Regions from separate parts of the Homo sapiens genome. Here regions 2, 3, 4 and 5 are each linked to region 1. The links are contacts of gene promoters, found by promoter capture Hi-C in blood cells and fetal thymus (Javierre and others, 2016). All regions are on one chromosome and are shown on one strand. The core of a region is centred on a gene start or on the middle of the fragment in contact, and the rest is flanking DNA. Distances in the headings are between cores, read along the strand shown. Region 1 holds the start of EPM2AIP1 (EPM2A interacting protein 1). Region 2 holds the start of RPSA (ribosomal protein SA). Region 3 overlaps LOC105377037 (a long non-coding RNA gene). Region 4 overlaps LOC101928263 (a long non-coding RNA gene). Region 5 overlaps SCN11A (sodium voltage-gated channel alpha subunit 11).

Region 1 (2,906 bases), core at 269-2,768:
CTACTATTACAAGTGAAAAGGAAAAAACATCCCCAGGTTCTTGCTCCTTCTTTCATCTACCTTCCAATTCTCTTCCTTTCCTTCAGTGGTCCTTTCTACCCACTGTTCTCTCAGTCCCATTGCCCTGAATAGTTTATACTTTCACAATAAATCCCTCTAGAAACCTACCACTCCAAACTGAAGCATTCTTTTTTCTATTAACGTACGGACGTCACTAACAACTGATTTTAACAAAATAATCTGACATAACGTTTAGGTGTATTTTGGGCTTGTCTTTTTGGAAGTTTATAGTCTGCACTCACTTTTCCTTCCACATGTTTCAAATCTCTTCCCTTCACATTTTTTGTCACAGTTATAAGCTTCAAAATCCAAGGATGACCCATAAAATCTGGTATCTTCGAAGTGCGTCCTCCGAAATAAAGGACAGGAAAACACTAAGAGGGGTCACTAATTTAACAATAGGGTAATCAGAAGTCAAGCCCAAAGTGCATCAGCCTGTCCTAAAACTACAAACGATTTGTTTTGAAAGAAACTCAAAATGAATTGTGCCTTTGGATGTGAACAGATGATTTCTGGAATGAATGAAAAGCAAGAAAACAGTAACACAGTACCCTCTGAAAAAAGGTTTTTCTCCCCATCTTAAGCTTTTATACATCTTTTAACTTCGCATGTTCTGCATACATAATTTTAAATTAAGTGGCTTCCTTACTTAGTTAACGGTACCATTAAGACAACACTACGTATATTCCTCCACTTACACTCCAAACAACCCTTAAAAGGTCTCGGGGGAGAGCGGTAAAGAAACACACGGTCTGCGGAAAAGGAGAAGGCCTGACTGGCACGTCAGGGAACCCGGCGGCCTCCGCCGTTGTGGGCATGCGCTGTACATGCCTCTGCCCGGGCAAAGAGGCGTGTCCGCGCCATTGAGTGACGCGGCCCGTTAAGTCGTAGCCCTTAAGTGAGCCCGGCTCGACTCCCTCCGTACCAGTTCTCAATCATCTCTTTGATAGCATTAGCTGGCCGCTGGATAACTTCCCCCGCCGCGATGCGGTTCACCACTGTCTCGTCCAGCCGCCGAATAACCCCTGCCACGAACGACATTTTGGCGCCAGAAGAGCCAAGGAAACGTCTAGATGCTCAACGGAAGTGCCTTCAGCCAATCACCTCAGTGCCTCGTGCTCACGTTCTTCCTTCAGCTGTAGCTTACGCCATCCAGCCCCACCCTTCAGCGGCAGCTATTGATTGGACAGCTTGAATGCCAGTCAAATTTCTCAACTCTGTGGGTTGCTGGGTCTCTTCGTCCCTCCCTGAAGCGGCTACTGCCCGCTACCTAGAAGGATATGCGCTTGCGCGTTAGAGATCGCTGTCCGCTCTTCCTATTGGTTCGTTTTTAGGAGCTCGGGGAATACGAAATATCCAGCCAATAGGAGCAGAGATGCCGGAACCGGGCTTGTGTGCCTCTGCTGAGGTGATCTGGCGCAGAGCGGAGGAGGTGCTTGGCGCTTCTCAGGCTCCTCCTCTCCCCTTGCGGCCTTTCTAACGTTGGCCCTGCTCTTGTGGCCTCCCGCAGAATGTGGATGACGCCCAAAAGAAGCAAGATGGAAGTCGACGAGGCTCTAGTTTTCCGGCCCGAGTGGACCCAGCGTTATTTGGTGGTGGAGCCTCCGGAGGGCGATGGGGCCCTGTGCCTGGTCTGTCGCCGCCTCATCGTAGCTACCCGCGAACGCGACGTCAGGCGCCACTACGAGGCTGAGCACGAATACTACGAGCGGTATGTGGCGGACGGCGAGCGCGCGGCCCTGGTGGAGCGTCTGCGTCAGGGCGACTTGCCCGTGGCCTCCTTCACTCCTGAAGAGAGAGCTGCTCGTGCAGGCCTCGGGCTCTGCCGCCTCTTGGCCTTGAAGGGTCGCGGCTGGGGTGAGGGGGACTTTGTATACCAGTGCATGGAGGTGTTGCTGAGAGAGGTACTGCCCGAGCATGTAAGCGTCCTGCAAGGCGTTGACTTATCTCCAGATATCACAAGGCAGAGGATCCTGAGCATTGACAGGAATCTACGCAACCAGCTTTTTAACCGAGCCAGGGACTTTAAAGCCTATTCTCTTGCCTTGGACGACCAGGCTTTTGTGGCCTATGAGAACTACCTCCTGGTCTTTATCCGCGGTGTAGGCCCTGAGTTGGAGGTGCAAGAAGATCTTCTGACCATAATCAACCTGACTCATCATTTCAGTGTTGGTGCGCTCATGTCGGCAATCCTAGAGTCCCTGCAGACAGCAGGGCTTAGCTTGCAGAGAATGGTTGGACTGACCACGACCCATACTTTGAGGATGATTGGTGAGAACTCAGGACTCGTCTCATACATGAGAGAAAAGGCCGTAAGCCCCAACTGTTGGAATGTCATTCATTATTCAGGATTTCTTCACTTGGAACTGTTGAGCTCCTATGATGTAGATGTTAATCAGATCATAAATACCATATCCGAATGGATAGTTTTGATTAAGACCAGAGGCGTTAGGCGACCTGAATTTCAGACTTTACTAACGGAATCTGAATCAGAGCATGGTGAAAGGGTTAATGGACGATGTCTGAACAATTGGCTTAGGAGAGGGAAAACTTTAAAACTAATATTCTCTCTAAGAAAAGAAATGGAAGCGTTCTTGGTTTCAGTAGGGGCAACAACAGTCCACTTCTCAGACAAACAATGGCTTTGTGACTTTGGCTTCTTGGTGGACATTATGGAACACCTTCGAGAACTCAGTGAAGAATTACGAGTTAGTAAAGTCTTTGCTGCTGCTGCCTTTGACCATATTTGTACTTTCGAAGTTAAGCTGAATTTATTTCAAAGACATATTGAGGAAAAAAATCTAACAGACTTTCCTGCCCTCAGAGAAGTTGTTGATGAGCTAAAA
Region 2 (2,906 bases), core at 131-2,630, 2.4 Mb before region 1:
AGTTCAATAGCCTGTGTAAGTACCTATGAAGTTGAAGGCACTATGCGAGCTATTAGAAACTCAGCCAATGAACTTTCTCATGTTCATGACCCAACCCAAGTCCCGTAACTCAGACAACTGACATATTCCTCCCCTGGAGCAGAAATCTTTTCTCTCAATAACAAGAACATTTATTTAAAGTATGTTTTCAACGTAGGGGTCTGGCTTCATTTAAGGAAGATAGAAAGAAATTACCCAGAACTAACCACGAGAATAGCAAGCTCAAAATTTGTACTTACAGCTGGAGTAACAAAAAATTAAAGCAATGACTAACCATCACTTTTCCTTTTATAGATGTACTGTTCCATCTGGAAGTCAAGATTGGTGCCACCTAAGTGGGTTCCTGCTGCAAGGAACTTAAGGACATCCTCCTCCTTCATTTGCAGGACATCAAGGGCTCCGGACATTGTGAAAATTTCCCTTTAAGTTACGACGGGAATCTGAAATAAGAGAGCAACCTATTTCTTTTCATTCCATTGAGTTAAGTAGGGCACACCCTTAAAAGCAACCAAAAACTCCATCTGCTATAGTGTCAGGCATTGAGCTTACAGTGTAGTGAAGGGTAAACAGAAAGTTAACCCATACATGTCGTGTATTACGGAACAGCGCACATCTTACTGAGGAAATAGTGTGGACGGCAGAGTAACCGAGTAATAAAACTACACGAAATTAGCGAATGGAAATTCAACACTTCTCAAGATAGGAATTAAGGAAAAGTTGTGGATGCGCCAAGTTAACAACTAGATACAAAAGAGCAGCCATGTTTGGAATATGCAAACTAAAGGCAAAAAAGGCATGAATTGTTTTCAGACATTTTCAAGCAGATTGTAGGCGGATGCTTTGGAATTACTTCGCTGTGCTGTCACCACTTGTTTGTCTAAAAACCCGAGAACCTTAACTCCTGACCCGCACGGCGCGAAGGGAAAACCCGACCAGCCCAAGTAGCTGGTGTAAATCAGCGCCTGGGCCTAGACTCACCGCCGTGTGGGACTCCGAAGGGATAGCAACACAGGATGTTAGCCCGCTTTCTGCACTCCCGCCCACCCGCGGCCTGGTCCGAACCCCAGCTCGGAGCCTCCGCTGGAGGGCGGCCTCCACCCGCTCCCGGGGCACTCTGGGAACCCGCCAGCCCGAGCCTGGCCACGTGCGGGCCGCAGGCCTAAGGTGGGGCGCGCCGGGCGGGAGACAGATCCAGTCTGACCGGCTTTCATCACTAGTCTTCTCACCCTTCATTTGAGCAGGAAAAGCTCATTTTTCTAGCCCTGGAAGGCGCCAGGGACGCTACACGGAACTCACCCAGAACAACGCCGTATGGACCCCTCTGCAGGTAGCACGGAAAAGACAGGCGGCAGGAAATGACGTCCTTATGTACTCCGTTGTCAGCCAATGGCAAAGAAAGTCGAGCGGAAGAAGGGCGGAGCCGGAGAAGAACGCTGCCGGGACTGGGCTTTTTCTTCAGGAAGGCGGGCTTGCGCCGCAGGAGCGGGCCTCTGGGCTGTAGCCGGTAGCGGCATCCTGGTCGGATCTGGGGCGCTTGTGACTTTGGGGTTTCTAGTGCCACAGCGACGCCCTGTGCATAATTCCTGTCCAGAGCGCGGAACTCAAGTTAGTCAGCCAGGCGGGGCGTTCTTACCCAGCCCTTGTACCTGCGAATATGAGCGGCTTTCTAGCCTAAGCTGCCATTTTGTTACCTGAAAAGTAGGAAGGTTTGTTCGACACAACAAATTGTTAGGTAAACAAAAACTTGAAGATTTATTTTATTTTATTTTCCTGGAGAACAGTTTAACAGGACGTAATTCAGATTTAAATGTTCACTTAAGGGAAGTTTTCTCTGAAAAAGTTAAAAAAGATAAGATTGAACTGATCGTATGCGTTATGTCTATCTCATGTATCTATCCATCTATCACCTGGGGGAAGTTTCCCTGAAAAAGTTAAAAAGGACAAGATTGAACAGATGGTATGGATTATATCTATCTTTTTTTTTTTTTTTTTTTTGGTAGAAGAAAAATTTTGCAATATCCATCAGTAGGAGATAAGTTTGCCGGGCGCGGTGGCTTGTGCCTGTAATCCCAGCACTTTGGGAGGCCGAGGTGGGTGGATTGCCTGAGCTCAGAAGTTCAAGACTAGCCTGGGAAACATGGGGAGACCCCCATCTCCACAAAAAATACAAAAATTAACCAATCATGATGGTGCGTCCCTGTAGTCTCAGCTACTCAGGAGGCTGAGGCAGGAGGATAGCTTGAGCCTAGAGGTCAAGTCTGCAGTGAATGTGATTGCACCGCTGCACTCCAGCCTGGGCAATAGAGCGAAATTCTGTCTCCAAAAAACAAACAAAAAAATAGGAGTTAATTGAAGGGGCGCGGTGGCTGTAATCCCAGCACTTTCGGAGGCTGACGCGGGCGGATCCCTTGAGGCCAGGAGTTCAAGAGACCAGCCTGGCCAACATGGCGAAACCCGGTATCTACTAAAAATTCAAAAATTAGCCAGGCATGCCTGTAATCCCAGCTACTGGGGAGGCTGAGGCGGGAGAATTGCTTGAACCCAGGAGGCAGAGGTTGTAGTGAGTGGAGATTGCGCCACTTGCACTCCAGCCTGGGCGACAGAGTAAGACTCCGTCAAAAAAAAAAAAAGTGCAGGTTCCTCTCTGGGGCCTGCTGAGTCAATCTGATTTCTGAGCCCACCCTAAAATGAACTCGTAGACCCTTATGGCCACTCTTCCAAAGGACAGCACATCCAGGTTCTCCTGCAAGTGGCTCTGCAGCTCCACTGAAGCCAGTATGATTTTCTGAGGAGCTTGGAAACCCTTGGACCCTAGCACAGGTCACCCCCAGGCTGCTCTGCTTCATCACCCACCAAGGCTGAAGCAC
Region 3 (2,906 bases), core at 147-2,646, 2.4 Mb before region 1:
TGTGTCAACTTGGCTAGGCTATAATACCCAGTTTTCAATTAAACACTAATCCAGGTGTTGCTGTGAAGGTATTTTGTAGATGTGGTTAACCTCTGTAATCAGTTGACTTTAAGTAAAGGAGATTATCTTTCATAATCTGGATGAAAGAAAATCAGGACACATATTTCCCTGACAAATACACCTTGTTTCCCTTCCTTAAAGGGTAGAGGCTATCTCCTGCTTTTTTCTGTGTGTCTTTGAGAGACCACTGAGGCAGAGTAATGCTGTAAAAAGAAAGTGGACTTTGGAATCAGGCATTGATTCTGTATTTGATCCTGGATTTGTCACCTGCTAGCTGTGTATTCACCTCAACTTTCTTGTTTGTTATTTTGAGATAAGTCTTGTGCTATTGCCCAGGCTGGAGTGCAATGGTGTAATCTCAGCTCACTGCAACCGCCGCCTCCCGGGCTCAAGTGATTCTCCTGCCTCAGCCTCCTGAGTAGCTGGGATTACAGGCGCACATCACCACGCCCAGCTAATTTTTGTTTTTTTAGTAGAGATGGAGTTTCACCATGTTGGCCAGGCTGGTCTCAAACTCCTTACCTCAGGTGATTGCCTGCCTCGGCCTCCCAAATTGCTGGGATTACAGATGTGAGCCACTGCGCCTGGCCAGTTTATGGGCCTTAATTAGAGGTCAAGAGTGAAGCCTCCCATATATAAAATTAAATACTTAGGGTAGATTCAGTGGCTCCGGCTTGTAATCCCAGCATTTTGGGAGGACGAGACAGCAGGATCTCTTGAGCCCAAGAGTTCAAGACCAGCCTGGGCAACATAACAAGACCTTGTCTCTACAAAAATAAAAACAGTAGCCAGGTGTGGTGGAATGAGCCTGTAGTCCCAGCTACTCGGAAGGTGGAGGCAGGACAGTCTCTTGAGCCCAGGAGTTCAAGGCTGCAGCAAACTATGACTGCACCACTGCACTCCAGCCTGGGTGACAGAGCAAGACCCTGTGTCTATGTTTTTTTAATTCCAAATACTTACCAAACATCTGCATTTTTACCAAAAATCTCAAAGCAGAATTTCTAATGACAGATTAGGTATGTAAATTAGAAGTCTTTCCCTCTGGCCCCTTTGTTTCTTAACACGCGTGGCACTCCATCATCTGCCATTCTTTCCCATCTGTTCTCTTTCACCCAGTCAGAAGCTCAGCTCAAACTGGCCACTAGAGGGAACACGTGTCCTGTTCCCAACAGGTTCTGGGTCCTGGCTTCAGGTGTCTGTAAATTACCTGATAGTCCCACTGGCATTGTCACTGAGCTACTGGCCTTGGGTGTACCAGGGTGAAGGCACTGGCCCTTGGTCCCAGACGCTGCCCCTTTCCAATTCCTCATGTATGCTTCATCTGTCTGGTCTATACAGGAGACCAGCTGTGGTGGGAAAGTATAAGGAGATGCCAGGAGTGGCTTCGGATAGAAGTGGAGAGAACACTGAACTAAAAGTCAGGAGTTTCTGATGCTAGTCCAATATCTGACAAAAACTCATTGTCACCTCTCTAGGCTTCAGCTTTCTCACGTGTAAGATGAGGGCCTTGAACTAAGTGGCTCCAAGTTCCTTTTCTGGGCTAATATCATATGAATCAGGGATCATGATCTCCAGACTCCCTTGGTCCTGACTTTCAGGCTAATGCAAGCCACAGAGGAGATATAGGAGATAGGCTGGGGCACAGATTGCACTGAGGAAAATGCATATGCATAAACAAAGTTTTGCCAACAGTTCTGTATTATTTAGAGCACCCCTGCAAGCCCAGTTAAACCCTACTGGTGTAGGGGGTTTCAACATACCAGGGACAGCTTTAGCAATCTTAGTAAGGTCTGCTTCTTTAAGGAATTGCACAGAGCACCAACAACCTGGAAGTCTTGTCCATGACCCATCCACAGTCTTCTCCATGAACTCATTGTAGAGCCTCACCATGATGGGGCTCCAGCTGGCACTGGGGAGGGAGTAATCCTTTGTATCAGACTGGAGGTGGCTACTGCTTGAGACCTGAAAAGTCCAAAAGGGGTGGTGGACTGTCCCCAGTACCTTCCGATTTGACTCATTCATTCAAGCATTTACTAATAGATGAGTCTGTTTTCATCTTGCAGAGCATGTACAAATACCCAGAGGTAAGAGAGAGCATGTCAGATTCCTAGAACTGTAAATGTGGAAACGTCTAGTAGGAGGGAAGGAATGGAAGGGAGGAGGCCAGAGGGAGAGCCTGGGGCCCTCCATCAACCATGTAGGAGAATGTAGGCTTTATGCTGAAGAGGTTTAAGCAGGAGAATGAAAGGGTCAGATTTGCATGTTAGAAGGATTTCCGTACACGGGAAGTTACAAACTGGTCAAGTCTCACTCACACTGGAGAGCCTTGCTGATATGCAATTCAAAGACACATTCTTTCCCCTGCCTGTTTCCTTTCAGCTTCCAGCTCCTCTGTGCCTCCCTCTCCTGCTCCCCAGTTCCTTCAGGTTCTGCTTCTAAGACGGTTCACCTTGTTTGACTATGTAGTTTATTTTATCTCCTTACTGTCCTATTACAATCAGAAGGCTCAGCCATCATCCTGGCTAACACAGTGAAACCCCATCCCTACTAAAAATACAAAAAATTAGCCGGGCATGGTGGTGGTTGCCTGTAGTCCCAGCTACTCGGGAGGCTGAGGCAGCAGAATGGTGTGAACCCGGGAGGTGGAGGTTGCAGTGAGCCGAGATCGCGCCACTGCACTTCAGCCTGGGCGACAGAGTGAGACTCCATCTCAAAAAAAAAAAAAAAAAAAAGGCGGCTCAACCAGAGACTCCCTTTTCTGGGAGACAGAGTAGATGATTGAGTCCAGATAGCTAGTCCTCCCCACTGGGAATTTTGGATAATCCATCACATGACAACACCTTCTT
Region 4 (2,906 bases), core at 216-2,715, 2.2 Mb before region 1:
ATACCATAGAATATTACTCAGCTGTAAAAAAGAATGAAATAATGTCTTTTGCAGCAACTTGGATGAAGCTGGAGGCCATTATTCTAAGTGAAGTAACTCAGGAGTGGAAAACCAAATACTGTATGTTCTCACTTATAAGTGAGAGCTAAGCTGTGGGTACACAAAGGCAAACAGCATGGTGTAATAAACTTTGAAGACTCAGAAGTAGGGGGGTGGAAAAGGGGTGACAGATATTGGGACAATATACACTACTTGGGCGAGAGATGCACTAAAATCTCAGACTTCCCCACTATATAATTCATCCATGAAACCAAAACCCCCTGGGACCCCACAAGCTATTGAAAGAAAAAATTATATATAGAGAGAGAACGAAAAGGCCTGACATTGTGGGCACATCCTATACCCAGGTAAGAGGAGGATTAAACCAAGAGCTGTAAGGTGACAGATTAGCTGAAAAGTTCCAGAGGAGAGCTGACTGCACTAACAAACGTTGCGTTTTCAAACATGTTTCAGGTGCATGTCAGGTCATTCGGATGGGACAACAGTTTATACCACAGTAGCCAAATGTAAAAAGAAAAAAGTCATTTCAGGAAAAAGCATCAGGTTGAAGGTAGTGCCTCCAAAGATAATGTCCTCCTGGAAGCTGTGAATGTATGAAAGGAGTTTTGTGGGTGTAATTCCGTTAACAATCTTGATGCCATCATCATGGATTGAGATGGGCCCTAAATCCAATGATAAGTGTCTTCAGAAGAGAAGAGGAGAAAAGGCCCACAGGGGAGAAGGCAACGTGAAGACAGAGCAGAGCCCAGAGGGACGCGGCCACAAGCCAAGGAGTGCCGAGGAGGGCCGGCAGCCACCAGAAACTGCAAGAGAGGCAGGGAATGGTTTTCCCTCACAGTGTCCAGAAGGAAACAGCAGTGCCAACACCTTGACTTAGGACTTCTGGCCTCCAGAACTGTGAGAGAATAAATTTCTATTGTTTTAAGCCAAAAAATAAAAAGCAAGGTGAAAGCAGCCATCATGATCATTATCATTTAACATGGCTCTAGCAGTTCAAGCCAGTGTAATTAGACAAAAAAGAGAAATGTGATGTAAATATTGGAAAGAGGAAGCAAATTTATATGTAGATGATGTGATTGGAAAATTCCCAACTATTAGAGAGGCAGTAATTCAGGATGGCTCGGGTGCGGTGGCTCATGCCTGTAATCCCAGCACTTTGGGAGGTTGAAGCAGGTGGATTTCTTGAGCCCAGAAGTTCGAAACCAGCCTGGAAACATGGCGAAACTCTGTCTCTACAAAAAATACAAAAATTAGCTAGGCATGATGGCGAGCACCTGTGGTGCCAGGTACTAGGGATGCTGAGGTGGAAGGATCACTTGAGTCCAGGAGGCAGAGGTTGCAGTGAGCCAAGATTGTGCCACTGGGCAACAGAGCAAGATCCCATCTCAAAAAAATAAATAAATAAAGATGATGGCAGTTTCCAAGGTTCATATACAAAACCCAGTAGCTCTCCTTTACTTTACTTTATATACATAATATATGTATATATATAAAATCTATCAGAAATATACGATAGAAATTACAGTTATAATGGCAATCAAAAAGACAAAATATTTAGAAAAATATTTAAAAGACATATAAGGGCCTTTACAAAGATAATATTAAAATTATACAGAATGCTGGGCAAAGTGCTCCCAGCATTTTGGGAGGCCAAAGCGGGAGGATGGCTTGAGCTCAGGAGTTTAAGACCAGTCTGGGCAACATAGTGAAGCCTGACCACTGCTAAAAACAAACAAAATTAGCCAAATGTGATGGTGCACGCCAGTAGTCCCAGCTACTTGGGAAGCTAAAGTAAGAGGATTGCTTGAGCCCAGGAGTTTGAGTCTGCAGTGAGCTATGAGCCCACCACTGCACTGCAGCCTGGGCAACAAAGTGAGATCCTGTCTCTAAAAATAAAAATAAATAAAATAATAGAGAACATTCTATTCTAGGCTTTTGTTTTTTGTTTTGTTTTGAGACAGGGTCTCACTCTGTCTCCCAGGCTGGAGTGCAGTGGCATGATAATGACTCACTGCAGCCTCAACCTTCTGGACTCAAGTGATCCTCCCACCTCAGCCTCCCGAGTAGCTGGAACTACAGGCATATGCCACCACACACCACAAAGTTTCGAATTTTTGTAGAGACAGGGTCTCCCTATGTTGTCCAGGCTGGTCTCAAACTCCTGGATGCATGTGATCCTCCCACCTTGGCCTCCCAAAGTGCTGGGATTACAGGTGTGAGCCACTGTAGCCAGACTACTCTGTGTTTTTTGTTTTTTTTTGAGACAGTGTCTTCCTCTTGTCACCCAGGCTGGAGTGCAGTGGTGTGATTTCAGCTCACTGCAACCTCTGCCTCCGGGGTTCAAGTGGTTCTTCTGCCTCAGCCTCCCAAGTAGCTGGGATTACAGGCACCCACCACCATGCCTGGCTAATTTTTTTTTTTTTTTTTTTTTTTGAGATGGAGTCTCATTCTTGTCCCCCAGGCTGGAGAGCAATGGCGCGATCTCGGCTCACTACAAACTCCGCCTTCTGGGTTCAAGCGATTCTCCTACCTCAGCCTCCCGAGTAGCTGGGATTACAGGTGCCTGCCACCACACCCAGCTAATTTTTGTATTTTTAGTAGAGACAGGGTTTCACCATGTTGGCCAGGCTGGTCTCGAACTCCTGACCTCAGGTGATCCACCCGCCTCGGCGTCCCAAAGTGCTGGGATTACAGGCATTAGCCACTGCGCCCGACTAATTTTTGTATTTTTAGTAGAGACGGGGTTTCACCATGTTGTCCAGGCTGGTCTCGAACTCCTGACCTCAGGTGATCCACCTGCCTCAGCCTCCCAAAGGGCTGGGATTACAGGTATGAGCCACTGTGCC
Region 5 (2,906 bases), core at 224-2,723, 2.1 Mb before region 1:
CTTATAGGTAAATTACTGCATCATTACAGGCTTATTCATTCACTGATTCATGTATTCATTCATTTAACAAAATATTATTTAGCATATCATATATGCCAGGCACTATATTAGGTGTTGGGGAATCAGTGGTGAGTGCACATAGTCATAGAACTTAGAGTCCCAGGATGAGACAGGAATTAATACAGAGATAAGTACTATGAAGAAAGATGATTGTAAGACAGGAAGTATCTTGAGTCAAGAGTTAACTAGGCAAGGAGAGGGAACAGTCTGAGCAAAGGTCTTGTAGCAGGAGAGAGCATGGAACATTACAGGAACTGAGAGTCAAGGCTTAGAGTACAGAGAAGTGAAAGGAGTATGCAGAGGCCATACCCAGCAGGATCTTTTAGACCAATGGGAAGCTGTTGAAATACAGGTAGGGAAATAATATGTCTGTATTTTAAAAATTGCTTAAGTGTCTATTGAGCACCTATGATGTGCAAAATACAATACAGGTATGTTGCTCTGGACAATATACTGGTACTTGCTAGAAATTGATATGTTGTAGTCCTGCTTTGGACCTGAAAAATATTGAAATAGTGAAGTTCTTTCAGTGGGCAGAATTTTCACCAGTATGTTTTGATGTTCAGTTTGGCTGAAAGGAGAAATGGTCAATTCAGGGTCAGAGGATAATTTTTTGGCCAGTTTGTGAAGGACATGGAAAGAGCAAGACTGGAGAACTAGTGACAAGGAAGACTCCAGAAGGGATATAGTGATGGACCTCTCAGAATAAATCTTAAGAATCATATGGATGAAATGAACTGCTTTGTGATGAAACTCAGCCTCACTGCCTGCTCAGTAGAATCATGAAATAAATGGCAATGGCAATGGCAACAGGATTGGAGCTATGCATGGGATCACCAAGCCACCGCTGGGTGTTCAGAAGCAGTGACCAATACCCCATGCTCTGGGAGGGTCAGCCAGTCACATGTAGGCAAGTCTATTCCATTGGTCATTGGCCCTCCCCATCATTGAGGGAGTTCTTATTTGTCCTCTCTAAAATATGTTTATTCTAGATTGAGATTTGCTTTCCCTGCTCACTGTACTTCCGCTGACACCACCATCTAGGGAATTACTCAGTGCTTTAGACACTATCATTTTCTCTAACACTATATTGCTTTTGACCAAGAAATTCACTCTGCAATGAAAGAAGTAATGCAATGGGCTATTGCCCATGGAATTTATTGGTCTAATTGTGTACTCAATCACTGAGAAGTATCTTGTCTTATTGAAGATATATTGAAGACTTAGCTATGGTGCCTTCTGGGAGATAACCCTTTTTGATACTGTCCTGTAGGATGCAGTATATGCTCTGAACTACTGTCCAATATTCAGCACTCTTTTTTCCTGTTCCTTTTATCTATTGCTGTTTAACCATCTGCAAAATGCAATGGTTTAAAACAATTACAACCCTTACTTTACTTACAAATCTGTAATTTATGCAGAGCTTCATGGGAACAGATTGTCTCTGTTCCACTATCCACTTCACATCAGCTGGGGCAGCTAAAAGATTGGGGCTGGAATCATCTGAAGACCCCTTCTCTCACATGTCTGGTGACTGATACTGGTGTTGGCCTAGTCCTTAGCCAAAGCTGTGGCTAGAACACCTTCTCATGATCTTTCCACAGCACTATTTGGTTCCTCACAATATGCTAACTGGGTTCCAAGGATGAGCATCCCGAAGAAGAAAAATCTGGTTGAAAGCTATAATGCTTTTTCTAAACTCACAGTGGAAGTCATGCAGTGTCACTTTAAGCCATAGTCAATTCATTAGAACTTAGTTACTAAGGCCATCAGTGTCTAAGGAGAGGGGATTAGATGACTCCTTTTTTTATGAAGTATCAATAAATTTGTGGATGTATTTTTTAATTGACACATAATAATTGTACATATATATGGGGTACAGTGTGATATTTTGATACCTGTATACAATCTGTAATAATTGCTTTGGGAAAATTCAATATCCACTCTTTTAGCTATTTGAAAATATGGAATAAATTATTGTTAATCATAGTCATCCTACAGTGATATAGAACACCAAAAATTATTCCTTCTACCTAGCTGTAATTTTATATGTGTTAACCAACCTCTCTATATATAATCCTCTCCTTTACCCTTCTCAGCCACTAGTTACCACTATTCTGTTCTCTACTTCTCTGAGATCAACTTATTTCTCTTTCACATATTGGTGAGAACATGCAGTATTTATCTTTCTGTGCCTGGCTTATTTCACTTAAGATAATGACCTCCGGTGCTATCCATGTTGCTGCAAATGACATAATTTTATTCTTTTTTATGATTGAATAGTATTTCATTGCATATATGTACCACATTTTCTTTATCCATTCTTCTTTTGATGGACACTTAGGTTAACTCCGTATCTTGGCCACTGTGAATAGTGCTGCAGTAACTGTGGGAGGACAGGTATCTCTTTGACATACTGATTTCCTGTTCTTTGGGTAGTAGTGGGATTGCTGGATCATATGGTAGTTGTAGTTTTAGTTCTTTGAGAAATCTACACACTGTTTTCCATAATGGTTGAACTAATTTACATTCCTATCAACAGTGTATGAATTCCCTTTTCTCTGCATCCTCACCCTCTGCATTTGTTTTTGTCTTTTTCGTATAGCGATTCTAACTGGAGTGAGATAATATCTCACTGTGGTTTTGATTTGTATTTCCCTGATGATTAGTGATGTTGAGCATTTTTTTCATGTATTTGTTGGCTATTTATATGTCTTCTTTTGAAAAATGTGTATTCAGATCATTTGCCCATTTAAAAATTATTTGGGTTTTTTTTGCTATTGAGTTGTTTGAGTTTTTTATACTTCCTGGATATTAATTCCTTGTTGGATGAATACTTTGCAAAT

Evidence for each region. Contacts are between HindIII fragments. The CHiCAGO score rates a contact against its expected background, and 5 or more counts as called.
Region 2: the fragment with the promoter of RPSA here is called in contact with the fragment with the promoter of EPM2AIP1 in region 1 in 1 of 17 cell types (naive CD8 T cells); the score reaches 5.7 in naive CD8 T cells.
Region 3: a fragment that was not itself captured here is called in contact with the fragment with the promoter of EPM2AIP1 in region 1 in 1 of 17 cell types (total CD4 T cells); the score reaches 5.3 in total CD4 T cells.
Region 4: a fragment that was not itself captured here is called in contact with the fragment with the promoter of EPM2AIP1 in region 1 in 1 of 17 cell types (neutrophils); the score reaches 7.8 in neutrophils.
Region 5: a fragment that was not itself captured here is called in contact with the fragment with the promoter of EPM2AIP1 in region 1 in 5 of 17 cell types (naive CD8 T cells, total CD4 T cells, total CD8 T cells and 2 more); the score reaches 14.3 in naive CD8 T cells.

Annotation. Positions count from the first base shown.
Region 1 is chr3:36,991,743-36,994,648 of GRCh38, reverse strand. EPM2AIP1 (EPM2A interacting protein 1) reads left to right here and starts at 1,518. Exons shown (of 1, transcript NM_014805.4): 1 at 1,518-2,906. The coding sequence starts at 1,572. MLH1 (mutL homolog 1) reads right to left here and starts at 1,131. Exons shown (of 19, transcript NM_000249.4): 1 at 986-1,131. The coding sequence starts at 1,101. RefSeq lists enhancers at 430-941, 858-1,077, 1,448-1,797, 1,918-2,237, 2,268-2,347. The HindIII fragment of the contact is 4,668 bases long and covers 647-2,906 here.
Region 2 is chr3:39,405,194-39,408,099 of GRCh38, reverse strand. It overlaps RPSA (ribosomal protein SA), which reads right to left and starts at 1,380. Exons shown (of 7, transcript NM_002295.6): 1 at 1,336-1,380; 2 at 314-479. The coding sequence starts at 446. RefSeq lists a silencer at 997-1,176 and enhancers at 1,347-1,486, 868-1,659. The HindIII fragment of the contact is 4,276 bases long and covers 1-2,906 here.
Region 3 is chr3:39,376,592-39,379,497 of GRCh38, reverse strand. It overlaps LOC105377037 (a long non-coding RNA gene), which reads right to left. Exons shown (of 3, transcript XR_001740661.3): 2 at 1,821-2,022. LOC105377644 (a long non-coding RNA gene) reads left to right here. Exons shown (of 3, transcript XR_007096252.1): 3 at 1-67. Among named protein-coding and RNA genes, the nearest start is that of SLC25A38, 5.3 kb to the left of the region's middle. RefSeq lists a silencer at 1,247-1,296. The HindIII fragment of the contact is 8,755 bases long and covers 1-2,906 here.
Region 4 is chr3:39,161,274-39,164,179 of GRCh38, reverse strand. The region is part of intron 1 of LOC101928263 (a long non-coding RNA gene); the gene reads right to left. Among named protein-coding and RNA genes, the nearest start is that of CSRNP1, 9.1 kb to the right of the region's middle. The HindIII fragment of the contact is 5,351 bases long and covers 1-2,906 here.
Region 5 is chr3:39,047,612-39,050,517 of GRCh38, reverse strand. The region is part of intron 1 of SCN11A (sodium voltage-gated channel alpha subunit 11); the gene reads left to right. Among named protein-coding and RNA genes, the nearest start is that of SCN11A, 2.9 kb to the left of the region's middle. The HindIII fragment of the contact is 2,996 bases long and covers 1-2,906 here.